7 separate regions of the Homo sapiens genome follow, and regions 2, 3, 4, 5, 6 and 7 are each linked to region 1. The links are contacts of gene promoters, found by promoter capture Hi-C in blood cells and fetal thymus (Javierre and others, 2016). All regions are on one chromosome and are shown on one strand. The core of a region is centred on a gene start or on the middle of the fragment in contact, and the rest is flanking DNA. Distances in the headings are between cores, read along the strand shown. Region 1 holds the start of AHSP (alpha hemoglobin stabilizing protein). Region 2 has its middle 66 kb from the start of KRABD5. Region 3 overlaps KRABD5 (KRAB domain containing 5). Region 4 overlaps KRABD5 (KRAB domain containing 5). Region 5 has its middle 14 kb from the start of KRABD5. Region 6 has its middle 34 kb from the start of KRABD5. Region 7 has its middle 50 kb from the start of KRABD5.

Region 1 (2,842 bases), core at 148-2,647:
GAAATATAAGGGGCGCGCTAAAGGGTTCCCAGGATCCCTTCCAACTCTAAATTCCTGCGATGCCTGGGGCTCCGGGGAGGTATTTTGCGGTAGTCAGAGTCCGAAGATCCTAGAATGTAGTTTGAGCTGGGGCTAAGGACAGGGGATTGAAAAGTCGAGGCGGTGGACCTGGCGCAGGATGAACAAGACTGGGAGACTTCCAACAGTTTCCTCCTCGACAAGCAGGTCACAGGACAATGTCTGGAGGACTTCTATCCCCCTTTCTTGTTTCTGCCACCCCCTCCCCTGCAGCTCTGCACTCTCTCTAGTCCCGCCTTCCTGGCCCTCGTTCAGCCTGTTTTAGTTTAGAATCGCTGCCCGGTGGTCACTCAAGGCTGCTAACCTCTGCTGTAAGGAATTAAGCTTCCAAGAGCATATCTAAGAAGGAGGGCGGAAGGAAAGGGACCGAGTGCCTCCACATGTCAGGACAGACCATGAAAGAGAAGCCAGGAAGTCCAACAAAACCAGCACTGGTCTTTATTGAGGTGTCAGGGTAGAGTGGCAGGAGCACAGCCTAAGGACATGAAGGTCAGAGTTTCTCAGAGAGGAGGGGCTGGGTCCCTGAGCTAGGAGGAGGGCGGTGGGTGACTCGGGAGCTCATGAGACTTCAGGAAGTCCCTGTACTTGGCCAGGAAAGGGTTGGCCAGAGTGTTCAGCTCTTGCCGAAGCTCCTGCAGAGCCTTGTCTCGCTCTTGGGGCTCCCCTGTCACCTGCTGCCTGTAATAGTTGATGTAGAAGTTCATCCAGTCCTCCACCACAGTCACCATGTCTTCTTCAGAGACGAGAGGATCATTGAAGACCTGGGGGGTTGCGGAGAGGCAGTTGGCAAGGGAGAATGTGGTCAGCAATGGGATTCGGGAATACTAGAATAGTGCCACAGCACCAACTCTCACATTCTCTTTCCTCTGCATTGTATCCCGTGTCTCTCGTTGTTTCCATCAACTCCACCATTACTTCACCAGCTCCAATTATCCTCTTCCTCCACTTCCCCGGCACCCCCCAGTCTCCAGGCCAGTCCTTTGAAATGGAAAGCTTGGACTCACCTGCTGATTCAGCAGAACGCTGAACTCCTTCAATCCTGCGGAAATGAGATCCTTATTGGCCTTAAGAAGAGCCATCTGCCTGGGTAGAGAAAAGGGTAGAATTTACATATCTGTTTCCCTCCTCACTGGGTATTTCCCCCAACCCACTTCCTCCCCTTAAAAATCCCTCCTGCCCTGCAGGGCTATCTCCTTTCCAAAACCTTTCACATCCTGCCCTGCTCTGAGGTCACGATTTTCCCAGGTTGGGCTCACCTTCAGGTCTAACAGGCTGTATATGTCTCACCCACACTCTTGAGGGTGCGTGAATCTCTCTGTGCCAAGCTATAGATGTAGGCAAGGAGTCAAGTGTCAGCCTAAGATAGAAACGCCCTGCATCTAGGTCCTGAAGGAGGGTGATAGGTCATTCTAGGGAGGAGAAGAAGGGAGAGGCTTCCCTGAAGGTAGAAAGATAACAAGGCCAAAAAAAAAAAAAAAAAAGATAAATGAGGAAACCCAGGAAATGCAAGAAGGCAAGAGCCAAACCAGGGGCATGTTCCTGCTTTTTGCCCCATATTTCAGTATCCAGGCTCGAAATGCTATGGAAATTGACGTTTACTGAGCCCTATTACATGACAGAGGCTTTTGTGTAATCACAACGATGTGATCGCAATGATTCTCCCAATTCGGAGATGATGTATTAATAGCAGCTTGCATTACATTTATTCATTTGTGCCAAGCACTGTTTCAAACATGTACAAAATATTTATCCTATAAAATTTCTTTTTAGACACATTTTGCAGATAAGCCACCTGTAAGCGTGTGGACTGAACTCCACCACGCTGTGCTCCATAAGAATGGAGATAAATAGCCGGGCGTGGTGGCGGGCACCTGTAGTCTCAGCTACTTGGGAGGCTGAGGCACGAAAATCGCTTGAACCCAGGAGGCAGAGGTTGCAGTGAGCCAAGATCACACCACAGCACTCCAGCCTGGGTGACAGGGCGAGACTCCATCTCAAAAGAAAAAAAAGAATGGAGATGGATTTGTCTTGTTTACTACCCTGTCAACAGGTACCCAATAAAGCAGAAATACTCTTTTTCCTCTTTTTAAATATTTTTCCAGATATTTTCCATTTTCAGTAGATGTTTCTCAAATTTCAAAATCACTATATACTAATTGAAATAATTAAAACAATACAAAAACGTACACTGAAAAACTGAATCATTTTTGCCCCCTCCAAAGTAACCAGCATTAAACATTGTATATTTCCTGTCACTTTTTTTTTCCATTCAAAACCCAACATTCATAGGTGCCTATACACTCATAAAGCTTTGTTGATTTGCCTTTTTGGTTGTAGCATTTTTTAATCAATATACAGCAAAACTGACTTCCTTTTGGTGTACAGTATATTAAATTTTTTTTTTTTGAGAGGGAGTCTCCCTCTGTGGCCCAGGCTGGAGTGCAGTGATGCGATCTCAGCTCACTGCAAACTTTACCTCCCAGGTTCAGGCGATTCTCCTGCCTCAGCCTCCCAAGTAGCTGGGATTACAGGCGTGCATCACCACGCCTAGCTAATTTTTGTATTTTAGTAGAGATGGGGTTTCACCATGTTGGCCAGGCTAGTCTCGAACTCCTGACCTCAAGTGATCGACCCACCTTGGCCTCCCAAAGTGCTGGGATTACAGGTGTGAGCTACCGCATCTGGCCTAGTTTATTAATTTTATAACAGATTTGTGTAACTACAAACGCAGTTAAGATACAGAATGTTTCTGTCACCCAAAAAC
Region 2 (2,842 bases), core at 218-2,717, 250 kb before region 1:
ATCTCTTTTGACTCCATGTCTCACATTCAGGTCATACTGATGCAAGAAGTGAGTTTCCATGGTCTTGGGCAGCTCTGCCCCTGTGGCTTTGCAGGGTACAGCCTTCCTCCCAGCTGCTTTCACAGGCTAGTGTTGAGTGTCTGCAGCTTTTCTAGGTGAAGAGTGCAAGCTGTTAGTGGTTCTACCATTCAGGGGTCTGGAGGGCAGTGGCCCTCTTCTCATAGCTCCACTAGGTGGGCCCTAGTAGGGACTCAGTGTGGGGGCTCTGACCCCTTCAGCACTGCCGTAGCAGAGGTTCTCCATGAGGGCCACATCCCTGCAGCAAACTTCTGCCTGGACATCCAGGCATTTCTATACATCCTCTGAAATCTAGGCAGAGGTTCTCAAACCTCAATTCTTGACTTCTGTGCACCTGCAGCTCAACACCAGGTGGAAGCTGCCATGGATTGGGGCTTGCAACCTCTGAAGCCATGGTCTGAGCTATACCTTGGCCCCTTTTAGTCATTCAAGTGGCTGGGACTCAGGGCACCAACTCCCTAGATTCCCCACAGTAGGGGAGCCTTGGGCCCAGCTTACAAAACCATTTTTTCTTCCTGGGCCTCCAGGCCTGTGATGGGAGGAGCTGCCGTGAATACCTCTGAAATGCTCTGGAGATATTTTCTCCATTGTCTTGGGGATTAACATACACCTCCTTGTTACTTATGAAAATTTCTGCAGCTGGCTTGAATTTCTTCTCAGAAAATGGGATTTTCTTTTCTATTGCATTTTCAGGCTGCAATTTTCCAAGCTTTTATGGTCCCCCTTCCTCATAAAACTGAATGCCTTTAAAAGCACCCAAGTCAGATCTTGAATGCTTCGCTGCTTAGGAATGTCTTCCACCAGATACCCTAACTCATCTCTCTCAAATTTAAAGTTCCAGAGATCTCTACAGCAGGAGCAAAATGTCACCAGTCCCTTTGGTAAAACATAACAAGAGTCACCTTTGCTTCAGTTTCCAAAAAGTTCCTTATTTCCATGTGAGACCACCTCAGCCTGGACTTTATCGCCCATATCACTACCAGCATTTTGGGCAAAGCCATTCAATAAGTCTCTAGGAAGTTCCAAACTTTCCCACATTTTCCTGTCTTCTTCTGAGCCCTCCAAATTGTTCCAACCTCTGCCTGTTACCCAGTTCCAAAGTCGCTTTTATATTTTTGGGTGTCTTTTCAGCAGTGCCCCACTCCTGGTACCAATTTACTGTATTAGTCCATTTTCACACTGCTGATAAATACATACTCAAGACTTGGCAATTTACAAGAGAATGAGGTGTAATGGACTTACAGTTCCACATGGCTGAGGAGGCCTCACAATCATGGCAGAAGGCAAGGGGGAGCAAGTCAGATCTTATGTGGATGGTGGCTGGCAAACAGAGAGAGCATGTGCAGGGAAACTCCCATTTTTAAAATCATCAGATCTCATGAGACTTATTCACTATTACAAGAACAGTACGGGGAAGACCTACCCCCATGATTCAGTTATCCTCCACTGCATCCCTCCCACAACATGTAGGAATTATGGGAGCTACAAGATGAGATTTGGGTGGAGACATAGAGCCAAACCATATCAGTTGGGGTAGACAACCCTGTGCTGTCAGTCATATATATGTATATCACATACAATTATGTACAGTATATAATACTTGATAATGATAATAAATGACTATGTTATTAATTTATGTATTTACTATACAACTTCCAGCCCCATAAGCTCCATTCATCGTAAGTGCCCTATACAGATGTACCATTTTTTATCTTTTATATTGTATTTTTTGCTGTACCTCCTCTATGTTTAGGTATCTTCAGATACATAAATATTTACCATTGTGTTTCAACTGCCTATAGCATTCAGTAGAGTAACATGCTTCACAGACTTGTAGCATAGGAGCAACAAGCTATACCATATAGCCTAGGTGTGCAATAGGGTCTACCATCTAGGTTTGTGTAAGTACACTCTATGCTGTTTGCAAAATGATGAAATGCCTAACAACACATATCTATGAACATATCCCCATTGATAAATAACACATGACTGTATATAAAGTCATGTCAGAAGACAAAATATTAATTAAAAGTCTTTCCACATTGAAAATCTCTGAATCAAAAGCTTTAAATGATAAATCTTATCAACATCTAATAAAATATTCATGCTAATTCTTCAAAGTAACTTCCAAAAATAGAAGCAACACTTCCCAATTTACTCTATGAGGCCAGGAGTGCCATGATACCAAAGCTGGAAAAAAGCATTGCAAGAAGACTAGAAAGAAAAATCCGTAATGACTACAGACACAGAAATCCTTATTAAATACTAGGAAATTTATTCCAGGAACATAATAAACATGATTATATACCATAGCCAAGTGAGATTTTATTTTCATAAATGCAATGTTAGCTTAATATCTAAAAGTCAATTAAGATAATACACAATATTACTTGAATACATGACAAAAAGAACATTTCGATAGACACAGAAAAACATTTGACAAAAATCTAACATACATTGTGATAAAAAAAAAAAAAACAGAATGCTACTAATAGACAAAAAAGTGAGTCCTGCTAAAAGCCATCTATAAAAACCTACAACTAGCATTATACTTGATGGTGAAAGACTGAGTACTTGACTGATAACTTTGGGAACAGGACCATAATTTCCACTTTTAGCACTCTATCCAACATTGTACTCCACCTCGGGAAATTATACTGGAAAGTAAAAATTGTCCAGATTGAATAAAAAAAGTAGAACCGTGTTTCATTGCACACAACATAATCTTCCACATAAAAATTTGTCAGGAATTTACTAAAAACTC
Region 3 (2,842 bases), core at 166-2,665, 230 kb before region 1:
ACACACACATGCATTTCTGCCTGTATAGTTCTCTTTCACCTTTTTCTTTCTATCTTAGTACATCTGTATATTCCATTTAATGCAAGTGAAAGCAAAGAAAAATCTCTAAGTGTTCAATTGGACTGAAAAAGGGCATGTGCAAAGAAAAATATTGAATAAAACTTTATAAACAATGATTCAGGATTTTAAAAGTATGGCATTTAAGTATACCCCCATATAATCTTTATTATAACTGTCATAGTACACCAGTAGCTACAAAAAGCAGGAAAGAATATAAAATAGTAACCATGAGAATATTACCAATATTATTAGAAGTTTAAGTTCTCTGGAAAATTGATATAAAGTATATTTATAATCTTTCAGATATGAGTTTTCACTTTTCTCTGATATCTGTGAAGATGTTTTTATTTTTAACACATCAAATAATATTCAAGATTACTACTTCATTGTACTATAAAGGTATGCCAGTATTTTAAATAACTGACCAGTGTTTTTCTACTTAAGGAGCAATTGATGTAATAAATAAATTCAGAATATTCCTCTTTTACTTTAGTATAGAATACTAATGCCCTAAATATGTACTATATGTTTACACATATTACTGTTTAATGATTCAAACACAAAGAGCCTCTTTTAGATTTTCTTCATGTATTTTACATTTGCCATTAAATTTCCAAGAAAATAAGTTGATATTAATGATGTTCACCTACTATAGAACGACCTCTTACAGCTCTGATGCAGAAAAAATAGACTATATGTTTTTATATAAACACTAGGCATTAAGGTATAACAACTAATCTGAGAATTAAATTATGATTTGCTTTATACAAATTTCAAATGTTTTCAATACAAATAACATGCTCACTGAATAATTACTTGTCCAAACATCAATGCTTTTGCTCATTTGAAACACATAACAAAATAAGTAACTGCTTTGGCTTTAGAGTAATCCTCCATAACAAATACTCTTATTTAATTTTAAAGTGGGGATCTGTGCTTTAGTCCTTTTTTGTGTAAGTCCTGACACATTCAGATTTGAGTTCTGATTAAATACTTCCTCCCATTTATTCAATCTGTAAAGTCGGTTTCCCTATAAACTCTATGGTGATTTTTAAGTTCTAAATTTTGGATAAAACTCTTTTCACATTTACTACAACTATAGAAATTCTCTAGTATGAATACTTTTATGTCGAGTAAGGGTTGAGCATCGATTAAATAATTTGCCACATTCTTTACATTTGTAGGGTTTCTCTCCAGTATGAATCATCTGATGTCGTCTAAGGTTTGAAGACCGGTTAAAGGAGATGCCACAATCCTTACATATATATGGTTTCATTCCAGTATGAGTTATCTGATGCACAGAAAGACATGAGGAATGAGAGAAAGATTTGCTACATGCTTTACATTTGTAAAGTTTTACTCCAGTATGAATTCTCTGATGTTTAGTAAGGGATGAACTACAGTTAAAGGCTTTGCCACATTCTTTACATATGTAGGGTTTCTCTCCGGTATGAATTCTTTGATGTTGAGTAAGGCGTGAACTACAATTAAAGGCTTTGCCACATTCTTTGCATTTATAGGGTTTTTCTCCAGTATGAATTCTCTGGTGGACAATAAGACTTGAGGAACGAGAAAAAGATTTGCTACATGATTTACATTTGTAAAGTTTTTCTCCGGTATGAATTCTCTGATGTTTAGTTAGGTACGACCTACAGTTAAAGGCTTTGCTGCATTCCTTACATTTATAGGGTTTCTCTCCAGTATGAATTCTCTCATGCTGAGTAAGGGCTGAAGACACTTTAAATGATTTACCACATTCTTTACATTTGTAAGGTTTCTCTCCAGTATGAATTCTCTGATGCACAAGAAGATTTGAAGAATGAGTAAAACATTTGCTACACGCTTTACATTTGTAAAGTTTTTCTCCAGTGTGAATTCTCTGATGTCTAGTAAAATATGAACTAGAATTGAAGGCTTTGCCACATTCTTTACATTTGTATGGTTTCTCTCCAGTATGAATTATTTGATGTTGAGTAAGGTGTGAACGATGGTTAAAGGCTTTGTCACATTCTTTACATTTGTAAGGTTTCTCTTCATTATGGATTATCTTATGTTTTCTTAGACTTGACAATTTACTAAGGATTTTCTCACCATTATTACATCTGTGTGACTTTTCTCCAATATGGATTCTCTGAGGCTGAGTATGTTTTGATGACTGGATAAAAGTTTCTATACACTTATTACATTTGGCAGACTTCTCTTGAATAAAGATACTCTGATGGACATGGTTGGTGCATTCATGAAAGGCTTTCTCACATTTTTTACGTTTGCAATGGTTATGTAGAAAATGAGTTTTCTGATGTCTTCTGGGGCTTATGCCTTGGCTTAATGTTGTATCAGATTTATTGTACTGATTTTTCTCTGCAACACAAATATACTGGTAATTATTTAGGGTATAGTCCTGCCTAAAGGCTGTCAAAGTTTTATTATGTGTGTGATATTTTCCCAAATTATCTATTCCTTGACATTGATTAAGCAATGATGAATGAATGAAGACCTTTCTATATTGATCACAGGCAGAACGAGGTGTTATTTGTTGGTGAAACAAACTTTTAACAAAGATCCATCAAATTGATCATATTTAGAAATCACCTCCTCGTTTTTAAATCTCTCCTTTTCAGAAATATTTGACTGAACATTTACTCCAGTTCTATATTTTAATTGGTTTAAATGATTATTTGAAACATGGACTAAGTCACTATTCGGATTATCCAAATTTCCTTTAAAAGAAAAGGTAAGTTTCAAAAATTGATGTTGACACTTACTTACAGAAACACATGGT
Region 4 (2,842 bases), core at 243-2,742, 210 kb before region 1:
TACCTTCTATACATAATTTGCTTAGAGTTTTCACTATAAAGAAAGTTAAATTTTGTCAAATACTTTTTCTGTGTATACAAATAACTATAAAAAATTAACATACCCAGCAATAAACTTAAATAAAAAAGTGAAAGATCTCTACACTGAAAATCATAAAACATGGATGAAAAAATGAAATACATGTGAATAGATGAAAATATATTGTGTTTATATATTGGAAGAATATTATTAAAATGGGCCAGGCGCAGTGGCTCACGCCTGTAATCCCAGCACTTTGGGAAGCTGAGACGGGTGGATCACCTGAGGTCAGGTGTTCAAGACCAGCCTGGTCAACATGGTGAAACCCTGTCTCTATCAAAAAAATATAAAAATTAGCTGGGCGTGGTGGTGGGTGCCTGTAATCCCAGCTACTTGGGAGGCTGAGGCAGGACAATCATTTGAATCCAGGAAGCGGAGGTTGCAGTAAGCCAAAATCGCGCCATTGCACTCCAACCTGGGTGACAAGAGCAAGACTCCATCTTAAAAAAAAAAAAAAAAAGAATATTATTAAAATGGGCATGTTACCCAAAGTGACCTATAGATTTAACGCAATTTCTATCAGAATACCAATGACATTCTTCACAAAAATAGAAAAAAAAAAAAAAAACTAAATGTACATGGAACCACAAAATACCCTGAATAGCCAAAGCAATCCTGAGCAAAAGGAACAAAGCAGGCTCAAGGCATCACACTACCTGACTTCAAAATTTACTACAAAGCTACAGTATCCCAAACAGCATTATACTGGCATTAAAGCAAACACATAGACCAATATGCCCAATGAGTCCATAAATAAATTCATGCTCCTAAAGCTGACTGATTTTCAACAAAGATGCCAAGAACACACTTTGGGGAAAAGACAATCTCTTTAATAAACGGTGCAGGAAAAATTGAATATCCATATACAGAAGAATAAGACTAGACCCCTAACCCTCATCATATACAAAAACCAACTCAAAATGGATTATAGACTTAAATGTAATGCCCTAAACTATGAAACTATTAGATGAAAACAGGGCAAATACTTTACAACATCGGACTTGGAAATTCCGACTTCAAAGCAAAGGCAACCTAAGCAAAAATAGGCAAATGAGATTACATCAACCTAAAAGACTTTTGCATATGAAATGAAATAACAGAGTGAAGAGACAACCTAGACAATGGGAGAAAACATTTGCAAACTATACATATGACAAGAGGTTAATATTGAGTATATAAGAAATTTGAAATCTCAAAATAAAACAAACATACAATCCAATTTAAAAATGTGCCACAGACCTTCATAGACATTAGTGAAAAGAAGACATACAAATGGCCAAAAGGTGCATAAACAGATGCTCAACTTCACTAATCATCAAGGGAATGCAAATACAAACCACAATGAGATACCACCACACTCCAGTTAAAATGACTATAATCAAAAAGACAAAAAATATAACTAAAACAAGTATTGGTGAGGATGTGAAGAAAAAGGAACACATATATACTGTTGATGGGATTGTAAAGTAGTATGGCCACTATAAAAGAGTATGGAGGTTCCTGAAAAATTAAAAATACAGCTGTCATATGATTCAGCAATTCCACTATTGGGTATATATCCAAAAGAAAGGAAATCAACGTGTCAAAAACATAGCTGCATTCCCATGTTTACTGCAGCACTCTTTATAACAGCCAAGATATGAAATCAATCCAAATGTACACCAAGAGATAAATGGATAAAGAAAATGTGGTGTAAATGCACAATGAATTACTATTCAGCCATTAAAAAAGAATAAAATCCTGTCCTTTGCAATAACATGGATGAACCATGAGATATCATGTTAAGTGAATAAGCCATATACAGAAAGATAAACCCTTCATGATCTTACTCAAATGAGTAACCTGAAAAGAAAGAAAGAAAAAAAGAAAGAAAGAGAGAGAAAGAAAAGAAAAGAGAAAAGAAAAGAGAAAAGAAAGGGCAGGCAGGCGGGCAGGGCACAGTGGCTCACACCTCTAATCCCAGCACTTTGCGAGGCCAAGAGGGGTGGATCATTTTAGTTCAAGAGTTCAAGACCAGTCTGGCCAATATGTTGAAACCCCGTCTCTACTAAAAATACAAAAAAATTAGCTGGGCATGGTGGTGCATGCCTGTAATCACAGCTACTCAGGAGGCTGAGGCAGGAGAATACCTTGAACCCAGGAGGCAGAGGTTGCAGTGAGCTGAGATCACGCCACTGCACTCCAGCCTGGGCAACAGAGCAAGACTCTGTCTTAAAAAAAAAAAAGAAAAAGAAAAGGAAAAAAAAGCTGATATAAGCAGAGTATAACAGTGGTTACCAGAGACTGAAGGGGGAGGAATAGAAAGAGGTTGGTTAACAGGTATAAAGTTACAATTACACAGGAGAAGTAAGTTCTGGTGTTCTATTACACAGTACAGTAACAATGGTTAATAGAAGGGTATTGCATATTACAAAATAGCTATAAAAGGCCAGTCACAGTGTAACATGCCTATAATCCCTGTACTTTGGGAGGCGGAAGCAGGAGCACCACTTAAGGTCAGGAGTTCAAGGCCAGCCTGGACAATGTAGTGAGACCCTATCTCTGCAAAAATTTTTTAAAATTAGCCAGGCACGGTGGCATATGCCTGTAGTCCTAACGACTTGGGGAGCTGAGGCAGGAGGATCACTTGAGCCCAAGAGTTTGAAGCTATGGTGAACTACAATTGTGCCACTGCACTTCAGCCTGGGTAACACAGTGAGATCCTGTCTCTACAAACAATAAAAGCTAAAAAAAAAAAAAAAAGTTAGAAGAGAGACTTTTGAAT
Region 5 (2,842 bases), core at 198-2,697, 170 kb before region 1:
ATGAAGGAGAAAGAGCAGGGTACACAGATCAAGCAGGGAAGCGCACCTGGGAGAGGAAAAGGCCAGCCCAGAACACAGGAAGTGCGCCCCCTTTTTCGGCTGCGCGCCTGATTGGACAGGCTCGACAACGGCGCCGCTGAATGGATAGGGCTCCAGGTCCCGCCCCCTTACCCCCGAGTGACAGGAGATGCGATCACAGGTGTGGCTGAATGAGGCCTGAATGAATGATTGTCTGCAGCCCTTTTCAGGCAGGGCTGACTCCCTGTGCTGGGACCTGGGGCTGCTCCGGACATTGGTATTTAACTTTGCTCATAAGATTATATCAATTTATGAGTAATATAGGTAATATGTAAAATTGAAAATTATATAATAACGATTCTTTTAAAATTTCAGATTTCATAACCTTCATGGCCTCTGGTCCCTTGTGGAGGCAGCATGAGATTTGAAAATGGAGGGAGTCCTCTAAGTCAGAAATGTCCAATAGGAATAAAATTGAGCCGCATGTGTCATTTACAGTAGCCTAGTGGCATCATGAAAGGAAAACAGGTAAAATTGATGGTAATACCTTAACCCGATATATCCAAAATATTATCACTCAAATATGTGAGCAATATGAAATTATTAATGAAGACCACCAGAGAATGCTTCTTAAGTTTGGGGTACTAAATCTTGTAAAGTCACTCTGTATTTAAACTTCTAGCACATCTCAGTTCCAACCAGCTCTATCCAAAGAGCTCAGCAGCCCCACGTGGGCAGTGGCTTCCGCATTGAAGAGCAGATCTGAGGGCACTTGCGCGTCTAACCTCAGGGAAATCGAGGGCCTGGACCCCCTTTCCTGCCAGACGAGAGCGAACACCCTCATCCTGCCCATCTCTTTCCTCATGCCCAAGGGTGGGAGAGGCAGTGCCCAGTGAGAGAGCCAGGGCTGCAGTCAGGAGGTGTCCACAGGTCGACCACTGCTGCCCACCTGCTTCTGGGCAGGGCTCCCTCAGCCTTCCAAAGGTCAGACAGTGAATGAAGAGTGTCAGGCTTCAGGAGGAAACCCCTGACTTCAGATCTGTCTACAGCCTTGACCTCCAAAGTTTGGATGTGGAGGGAATAAAAGCAAATTTTTTTTATTTTGCAATTTGCCCTTGGCCCTGATGGTTAGGCTATGGCGGGCTGTTTCCTCCTATGGTGTGGGGACTGTGTGAGTTTAAGCACCAAGCATGTCAACATGCATTTCTGTATAATTTATCCCTATCCAACAAGAGGCCCCACTTTAAATAAAGGGAAAAGCAAATCAATACCTTATACAGTGCCTTCTGTTTGCCAGGTAACAACAAGTAGTGACCAACCTGTCATTTGAATCCTGGCAACCTGACTGCAGGTGTATGTATCAGTTAGCTATTGCTGCATTAAAAACCACCCTAAACCTTATTAGCTCATGATTGGGATGGTCAGTCATTTAGGCTGGACTCAACTGGGCCATTCTTCTGGTCTCAGCTGGGCTCCTTCAGGCGTGTGTGGTCAGCTGCTGGTTGACTAAGTGGCTCTGCTTCTGGGTGTCAGCTGGGGCACCTTGGTTTTCCTCCCCAGTGGGATCTCATCCTCCAGCAGGCTAACATGTGCTTGTTCTCATGGAGATGGCAGGGTTCTAAAAGAAAAAGCAGAAGCATTCAAGGCCTTATGTCCCTAGACCCCAAACTGTCACATTGCCATATTGATAGCTTTCTATTGCCCAGAGCAAATAAGGCCAGCCCAGATCCAAGCGTCAGGAAACAGATTCTGCCTCTATGTTGGAGCAGCTGTAAAAGCATATTCCAAAGGGCATGGACACCAGAGCCATTTTGCAGTCAGTATCATTCTGCCTTTTCTTACAGCAAGGTTTATATAACTGTTCCAAGTCAAGGAACATGTCCAAAGCACTACAGCTACTAAGTGGCTGGACTGGGACTCTGGATCAACTTTGCCTGACTCCAAAGCCCATGTACCTCCATAGACCTCACAACTCAAGCAGCTTCCCTAGGCCTTTGAGATCCTGAAGACTGACTCTTCTGCAATAGAATAAAGGTTCTTTTGAGATGCTCATCCTTCTAGTAGGATTATTCACAATTAGGAGTAATCCCCACCAGAGAATGCTTCTGAAATGTCTTGCAAACATTTAGATTAACTTGGGAAAATGGCTGATGGCTGAGTTTAAAAAATCAAGGCATAACTTTTTCATTTCTTACCATAGGAGAGATCTGAAAACACATATAATGCACGAACATGTGTGCAAATTATTTTCATCCCCGTGCGTTATTTGTAGTCTGATTATGATTTTTAACACAGACTAAATTAAACTACTGTTCCCGAAACAACGTTTTACTCTGAAAGCAAGAGACACAAAGGTAGATCTGCCGAGAAGACATTTCCTCCTGCCTCAATTTAGCCAAACAGCTGAGTACGTCTTAAAGTCAGCCTTCGATTTCTAACAAGTCAAGCTGTTTGCCAAGACCTCAATCAGATCATAAGAGTGCTTCAGCTACTTCATCATCCTAGAAGGTTGACCAGACAGATCGAAGCTCTGGGGGTGGAGTGGTGAGAGCACCCGCACTAGCAGGTGGGCAGCCATAGGTCCATAGATGAGAGTCATTCATTAGGTGGGGTGTTTTGGGGTCCTGACATTTATGACACAATTAATGTCTATATTACTAAATGTAAATTTTAAAACATTACAAATAATAAATCTACATATAAACTGAATATGTCAGCAATTACAATTATTGTTATTCATCATTATTCTAAGTGTGATCATTATTATTACCACAATTAGAAATAGTGGTTGTGATTGTTGTTGCTGCTGCTGCTGCTGTTGCTG
Region 6 (2,842 bases), core at 102-2,601, 150 kb before region 1:
GGAATAGATTTTCCATTTTGTCTCATACTTTTCTTTGGTCATTCAGATATACAGGTTTTCTCCAAGACATGTCTGGCACAGAATGGAGAAGTTTACGTCTTCCCAGTTTTGCTTATTTTAGGTATTGGAACCAAGAAATGTCACCGTCTTGAGAGGGTCTAGAGGCAGTGGTAGCATTCGAGGTGGTAGCCAGGACCGCCACACACCCATCAGCCCAACTCTTCTTCATGCCCCTATTCTTGAGACCCTGGGCAATTGCCTTTGACACCATGATTCCTCTTTTTTGTCCCAAGGTGAAACTCTTCCAAGGAATCCCCATTCTTGTAGGAAGCTCTGGATTTCCTGATCTCTCCAAGGACTGGCCTGGAAGGGACAGAGAAATGCGAATGCCCTTTGAAACTACTCACAGCGTATAGTTGAGTGGTTTCCAAAGACCCCCTCTATGCTGCCAAGCCCTAAGCATGCTCTCGTATCTGTTGTTGGGAGATAATAAAACCTTAAATGAGAAGAGCAAGAACCAGGATCCCTGGGAGAAGTAACGTCTAATCCTTAAACTCATGGACATGTCAGGAAGCACCTGTCTGGATATTTATCATGCTCAATAATGGATAAAGACACCTGAACAGTGAATGAATGAAAGGATTTTCAGGCTAAGTATTTCTGCCCTGGAAGGGTTCTTCTTTTGTTTCAGGCATAGTGATCTGCCCTGAGAAGAGAGCTTGGGTCACCTTCTGGTCACCAGGTGTTGCTTGGCAAGAGCCCCATATATAATGAGCCATAGACCCATCATCTATTGAGCTGCCTTTGTTGCCCAGAATAAAAACTCAGGGCTACCAAAAGTGACTGAGGCTAGAACAGAGAGATTGTGGGTTGGTGTGGGAAGAGAGCTGATTCAAAAAATTAAAGAAAAAGGTATTCTAACATAAGACAATCTCTATTCATGCCTTGCCTACGAGTTGATTAAATATGGGAAATCATAGTACTGAAAATAATTATCTAAAATTCTAACTACCAGGAACTGAGCTACAATATTTGTGTCACTGTAAAGTAATAGAGAATTTATCTCAGTCCAAAATTAATAACAAAGAATTTCAAAATCAATTTAGAGCTTTGTTTTCTGTGTATGTGAAAGAACAAGGTCCAGACTCCCTCCAGCATCAAACAAATAGAAAGTCAGATCCACTATGTGACCCAAATATGTCCAGACCCTGGAAAGTGTCTGACAGGAGCACAGGATAGTGGTCTGGAGGCTGAATCCAAGGGAGGGGACCCCCTGGCTACCCCAGCTCAGAGCCTGCAAAGAGCATCCAGGAGGGAGTGCAGGCAGGCAGGATCCAGGCAGAGCATGGAGATCCCTGAGTTTAGGAAACAGGGTTGAGAATATAAGGAGAAAGGCAGCTCTGCAAGACACAGGGCTGAGTACCAGAGAGTAGGAGGCAGTGGCTGAACTAGAGGTAAGACTGAAGAGTAGAAGGTGGAGGTCATTGAACCATTGGCGGATACAAGGGTAATTACCAATGAAACAAATTTGTCCCAGTGAAAAAGGGAATAGGAACCCTGATTTTTTCTTTCTGAGCATTTTTTTAAAGAAAAAATATCCTTATGAGTTTCTTCTCTGTCCCTTTGTGATATATGGAAGTCTCTTCAAAAGTTAAGTAACCTCTTGCCAGCTTCCAACCAGGACTATCTTTCTCAAGGGCCTGGGAGCCATCTCTGAAATGGAATCATTAAGGGAGAGAGTTCCTGTGAGAGGGTAGGAGCCCAACTTCCGCCAGTGCCTGGCTCTAACTTACTAACCTACTCTTGCCATAAATTGTGAGACACTGGTCTTTTCTTGTCATAAATCCGATTAGCGAGCACTGTGGCTACCCTCGAGGGACATATAAAAATAGTGCTGTCAAGTCACTTCCTTGAGGACTGGTTGCTGTTTATCTCAGGAACACGCAAGCACTGGTTGTAACTGCCTGCCTATACACAAAGGTGAGATTTCCTTCTTTCTTGCCATGCGCTAAGTTATTGTCTGTTTTGTGCATCACAATGTGGTTTAATGATTCTTCAATGAAACTGTTTTCTTTCTCCTCTGTCTTTCTGGAGAGATTTCCTGGGTTTGCAGGAGACTTTGTTGTTAATCATATTCTTCACCACAGACAGTGACATCACTATGCTAGAGCGGAGCTCAAGACCTGAGTGGCAGCATCTCTCCTTGCTGATGCAGCCAAGGCCCCAGGGCCCAGGAAGGGATGCCACCACCTGGAGAAGAGCCTCAGATGGGAACTAATATCAGTAACTTGATATTTCTGCTTGGATAATGGACAAACTAGAGATAGCTCAGTTTAATCTATTCACAACCAAGCATTTCAGTTCTGGGGAAGACAAGACTAGACATATATGTCTCTATTCTTCCCAATAAGTACAACTAAAATCCCTGGACATTATACATAAAACAAAATGGAGAAAGCTCTAAAAGGTACATTATTGGCCCTGCCAGGTGAAGAAAAAGAGGTCCTATGGCTTTGGGTCTAAGGATATGCTGCAGAATGTTTACTAAATTCAGGACAGTATGACATGGCCCTGAACAAGTAGTCAGTTTTTCAAATATTTGAGCCATACTTGTAAGGGCAGCACACACGGCCAAAGTCACCCTATTCAGTTCCTGATAATCAACTTTCATTCTCCAGTTCCCTTCATGTTTTGGCACCAACCACACCAGGCTATTTTGTGGGCTATGTGCAGACACACAAATCCCACCCTCTCCAGTTTCTGAATAGTAGCTATTATCTTGTGTGCCCTCCTGAGAGGCAATATTGTTTGATACACACCAACCCTCTTGGGTGGAATAACA
Region 7 (2,842 bases), core at 221-2,720, 130 kb before region 1:
TGATCTAAGTTCAGAGTAAGCATTTTGGTTGTATTGTGAGGTAGAAAAAGCCACTCAACCAGATCATCCTGTTGAACAATAACTCCTGTAGGTGAATGTTTAGTTGGAAAAACTAAAAACTGTAATGGCTGCATAGGGTCAATTCATTTTACTTATGCTTGTTGAATTTTTTCTTCAATTAATTGAAGTTCCTCTAATGCCTTTTTGGACAGGGAGCATTTACTGTTTAAGTTAGAATCACCTCATAAGGTAGAAAAAAGGTGAGACATAGCATAGGTAGGAATGCCTAAGGTTGGATGAATCCAATTAATGTCTCCCAATAATTTTTGAAAGTCATTTAAAGTTTTTAAATTATTTCTTCGAATTTGAACCTTTTGAGGCTTAATAGTACTTTGTTCTACCTTCATTTCTAAATATTGAAAGGGAGTAGAGGTTTGAATTTTATCGGGGGCTATGATTAATCCTGCTGCAGTTACAGCCTTTTCTAACTCTTTGTAGCATAGTATTAATTCCTACCTAGTTTCAGCTGCACATAAAATATCATCCATGTAATGGATAATATAACATTTTTTAAATTGTTCTCTAACTGGCTTAATAGCTTTTCCGACATAAGTTTGACAAATAGTCAGGCTATTTAACATGCCTTGTGGTAATACTTTCCAATGGTATCTGTCCACTGGTTATTTGTTATTTATAGCAGGAACAGTAAAAGCAAATTTTTCATAATCTTGGAAGCTAAAGGAATGGTAAAGAAGCAGTCTTTTAAATCTATCACTATTAGAGGCCAGTATTTTGGGATCATTGTTGGAGAGGGCAGCCCTGGTTGCAGTGCACCCATGGGTTTAATTTTAACTGCCCTCAAATCCGTTAACATTCTCCATTTCCTTGATTTTTTCTTAATAACAAACACAAGAGAGAGTTCCAAGGGAGAAAGCAGGCTCTATGTGTCCCTTTTGCAATTGTTCCTCTGCTAATTTTTTAAAAGCCTCCAGTTTTTTCTGTTTCAGCAGCCATTGCTCCACCCAAACTGGTTTGGCAGTTAGCCAAACAAGAGGAATGGGAGAGGGCGGCTCAGCAATGGCCACATCTAAAAATGATACCCTAATACAGTTTGATCTGTTTGCCCTTTTAGTTCTAAAGGTTCTGGTTGGCCACTTTCATTCTTTCGTAATCCTTTTGCAGGGAGATATCCCATATTTTTCATCATTTGTTTACTGTTATTACGATACTGATCCATAGGAATAGAAATTTCAGCACCCCATTGTTGCAATAAGTCTCTACTCCATAGATTGACAGGAATAGGTGTAATAATAGGTCAAATTGTCCCTTCCTGGCCATCCGGCCCCTGACATGGTAAAATCAAGAAACTTTGAAAACCTTCTGAAGCAGCTCCTACTCCAACAATACTGATGGATGCCTTTTGTTTGGGCCAGTGTCGGGGCCATTGATTTAAAGCAATAATAAGAACATCGGCTCCAGTATCTACTAACCCTTCAAAGTCCTTTCCCTGAATGGTTACTGTACAAATAGGTCTCTTATCAGACACTTGATTAACCCAATATACAGCTTTTCCTGCTGGGTTAGTACTACCAAAGCCTCCTGTTCTTTTTACAGTGCTGCTTCCCAGTTTTGTATAAGGTAACAGCAACAACTGAGCAATTCTTCCTCCTGGAGAAGCAGACCATGGAGTTGAGGAACTAATAACTAGTTGAATCTCTCTGGCATAATCAGAATCAATTATTCCTGTATGCACAGTGACACCTTTTAAATTTAAGCTAGACCTTCCAAGCAATAGACCAACTGTTCATGAGGGTAAAGGGCCCCCAACTCCCATGGGGACCTTCTTTGGCAGCTCCCCAGGAAGTAAGGAGACAGGCATTGTGCTGCAGAGATCTACGGCAGCACTGCCTGCTGTGGCAGGGGACAATTGTTGTACGTTTGTAAGGCACTGACTGTGCCAGATATTCCTCGGTTCGTTGAGGGGCCTGAGGCAGGCTCCTCTTCCCATTTCCTGAAAGAGGTTGCCCATCTTTACTAAATTTAGAATGATACTGATTTGCCCAGTGATTGCCTTCTTACACTGGGGGCATACACCGGAACTTTTCTGTTGATTTATGGCAATAGTTTTTGCCTTTTGATTTCCTTATCTACATGCCTTTTGTGTGTGTCCAAATTGCCCACAATTAAAGCAAGAGCCTGAGAATCGGGGCATATTTTTTCCCACCTTTAGTCCAGCCATAGCTTGAGCTAAAAGAGTAGCCTTGTGTAAGTTACCCCCAATGCCATCACCAGCCTTAATATATTCAGCCAAGTGAGCCTTCCCTCTGGTAGGTCTAATAGCATTTTGACACTCTGTATTAGCATTATCATATGCAAGAAGCTGTATTACAACATCTTGAGCTGTTTTGTCAGTTATGGCCTTATACACAGCCTCCTGGAGCCAAGCAATAAAATCAGTATATGGTTCTTTAGGTCCTTGTTGGACAGAACTGAAAGAAGGATATTTTTCTCCTGTAACATTTATTCTCTCCCATGCCCATAAGTGCACCATGCGTAACTGAACAATGGCAACGTTCTCCATTACTGCTTGATTTTCTAATCGACCCCAATTAGGGCCAACTCCCATTATCTGTTCAAAACAAACGCACAGGTGGCTGTGCTTGTGTGTTTTCCCTTGCCTGGGTTTGTGCTTTATCAGCCCACCAGGTTTTAAACTGTAAGTACTGAGATGGAGTGAGAGCAGATTTTGTTAAAGTATCCCAGTCATATGATATTAATCTATTCTCAAGAGCCACATTTTTTAGTAAACTTTGTACAAAAGGAGAATTTGGCCCATATTGAC

What was found. Contacts are between HindIII fragments. The CHiCAGO score rates a contact against its expected background, and 5 or more counts as called.
Region 2: a contact is called between a fragment that was not itself captured here and the fragment with the promoter of AHSP in region 1, in 6 of 17 cell types (total CD4 T cells, naive CD4 T cells, M0 macrophages and 3 more). The highest score is 7.6, in total CD4 T cells.
Region 3: a contact is called between a fragment that was not itself captured here and the fragment with the promoter of AHSP in region 1, in 5 of 17 cell types (activated CD4 T cells, total CD8 T cells, fetal thymus and 2 more). The highest score is 7.2, in activated CD4 T cells.
Region 4: a contact is called between a fragment that was not itself captured here and the fragment with the promoter of AHSP in region 1, in 6 of 17 cell types (fetal thymus, total CD4 T cells, naive CD8 T cells and 3 more). The highest score is 7.0, in fetal thymus.
Region 5: a fragment that was not itself captured here is called in contact with the fragment with the promoter of AHSP in region 1 in 9 of 17 cell types (erythroblasts, neutrophils, activated CD4 T cells and 6 more); the score reaches 15.9 in erythroblasts.
Region 6: a fragment that was not itself captured here is called in contact with the fragment with the promoter of AHSP in region 1 in 8 of 17 cell types (naive CD4 T cells, total CD8 T cells, total CD4 T cells and 5 more); the score reaches 9.2 in naive CD4 T cells.
Region 7: a contact is called between a fragment that was not itself captured here and the fragment with the promoter of AHSP in region 1, in 1 of 17 cell types (activated CD4 T cells). The highest score is 5.6, in activated CD4 T cells.

Annotation. Positions count from the first base shown.
Region 1 is chr16:31,526,455-31,529,296 of GRCh38, reverse strand. It overlaps AHSP (alpha hemoglobin stabilizing protein), which reads right to left and starts at 1,397. Exons shown (of 3, transcript NM_016633.4): 1 at 1,335-1,397; 2 at 1,083-1,161; 3 at 494-839. The coding sequence starts at 1,157. The coding sequence ends at 606. The HindIII fragment of the contact is 1,316 bases long and covers 1,074-2,389 here.
Region 2 is chr16:31,778,285-31,781,126 of GRCh38, reverse strand. No RefSeq gene overlaps it. Among named protein-coding and RNA genes, the nearest start is that of KRABD5, 66 kb to the right of the region's middle. The HindIII fragment of the contact is 1,355 bases long and covers 790-2,144 here.
Region 3 is chr16:31,754,034-31,756,875 of GRCh38, reverse strand. The region is part of intron 4 of KRABD5 (KRAB domain containing 5); the gene reads right to left. Among named protein-coding and RNA genes, the nearest start is that of KRABD5, 42 kb to the right of the region's middle. The HindIII fragment of the contact is 3,312 bases long and covers 1-2,842 here.
Region 4 is chr16:31,734,214-31,737,055 of GRCh38, reverse strand. The region is part of intron 3 of KRABD5 (KRAB domain containing 5); the gene reads right to left. Among named protein-coding and RNA genes, the nearest start is that of KRABD5, 22 kb to the right of the region's middle. The HindIII fragment of the contact is 3,107 bases long and covers 1-2,842 here.
Region 5 is chr16:31,697,813-31,700,654 of GRCh38, reverse strand. It overlaps the pseudogene CLUHP3. Among named protein-coding and RNA genes, the nearest start is that of KRABD5, 14 kb to the left of the region's middle. RefSeq lists a silencer at 99-238. The HindIII fragment of the contact is 5,761 bases long and covers 1-2,842 here.
Region 6 is chr16:31,678,145-31,680,986 of GRCh38, reverse strand. It overlaps the pseudogene RBM22P12. Among named protein-coding and RNA genes, the nearest start is that of KRABD5, 34 kb to the left of the region's middle. The HindIII fragment of the contact is 3,626 bases long and covers 1-2,842 here.
Region 7 is chr16:31,661,414-31,664,255 of GRCh38, reverse strand. No RefSeq gene overlaps it. Among named protein-coding and RNA genes, the nearest start is that of KRABD5, 50 kb to the left of the region's middle. The HindIII fragment of the contact is 3,144 bases long and covers 1-2,842 here.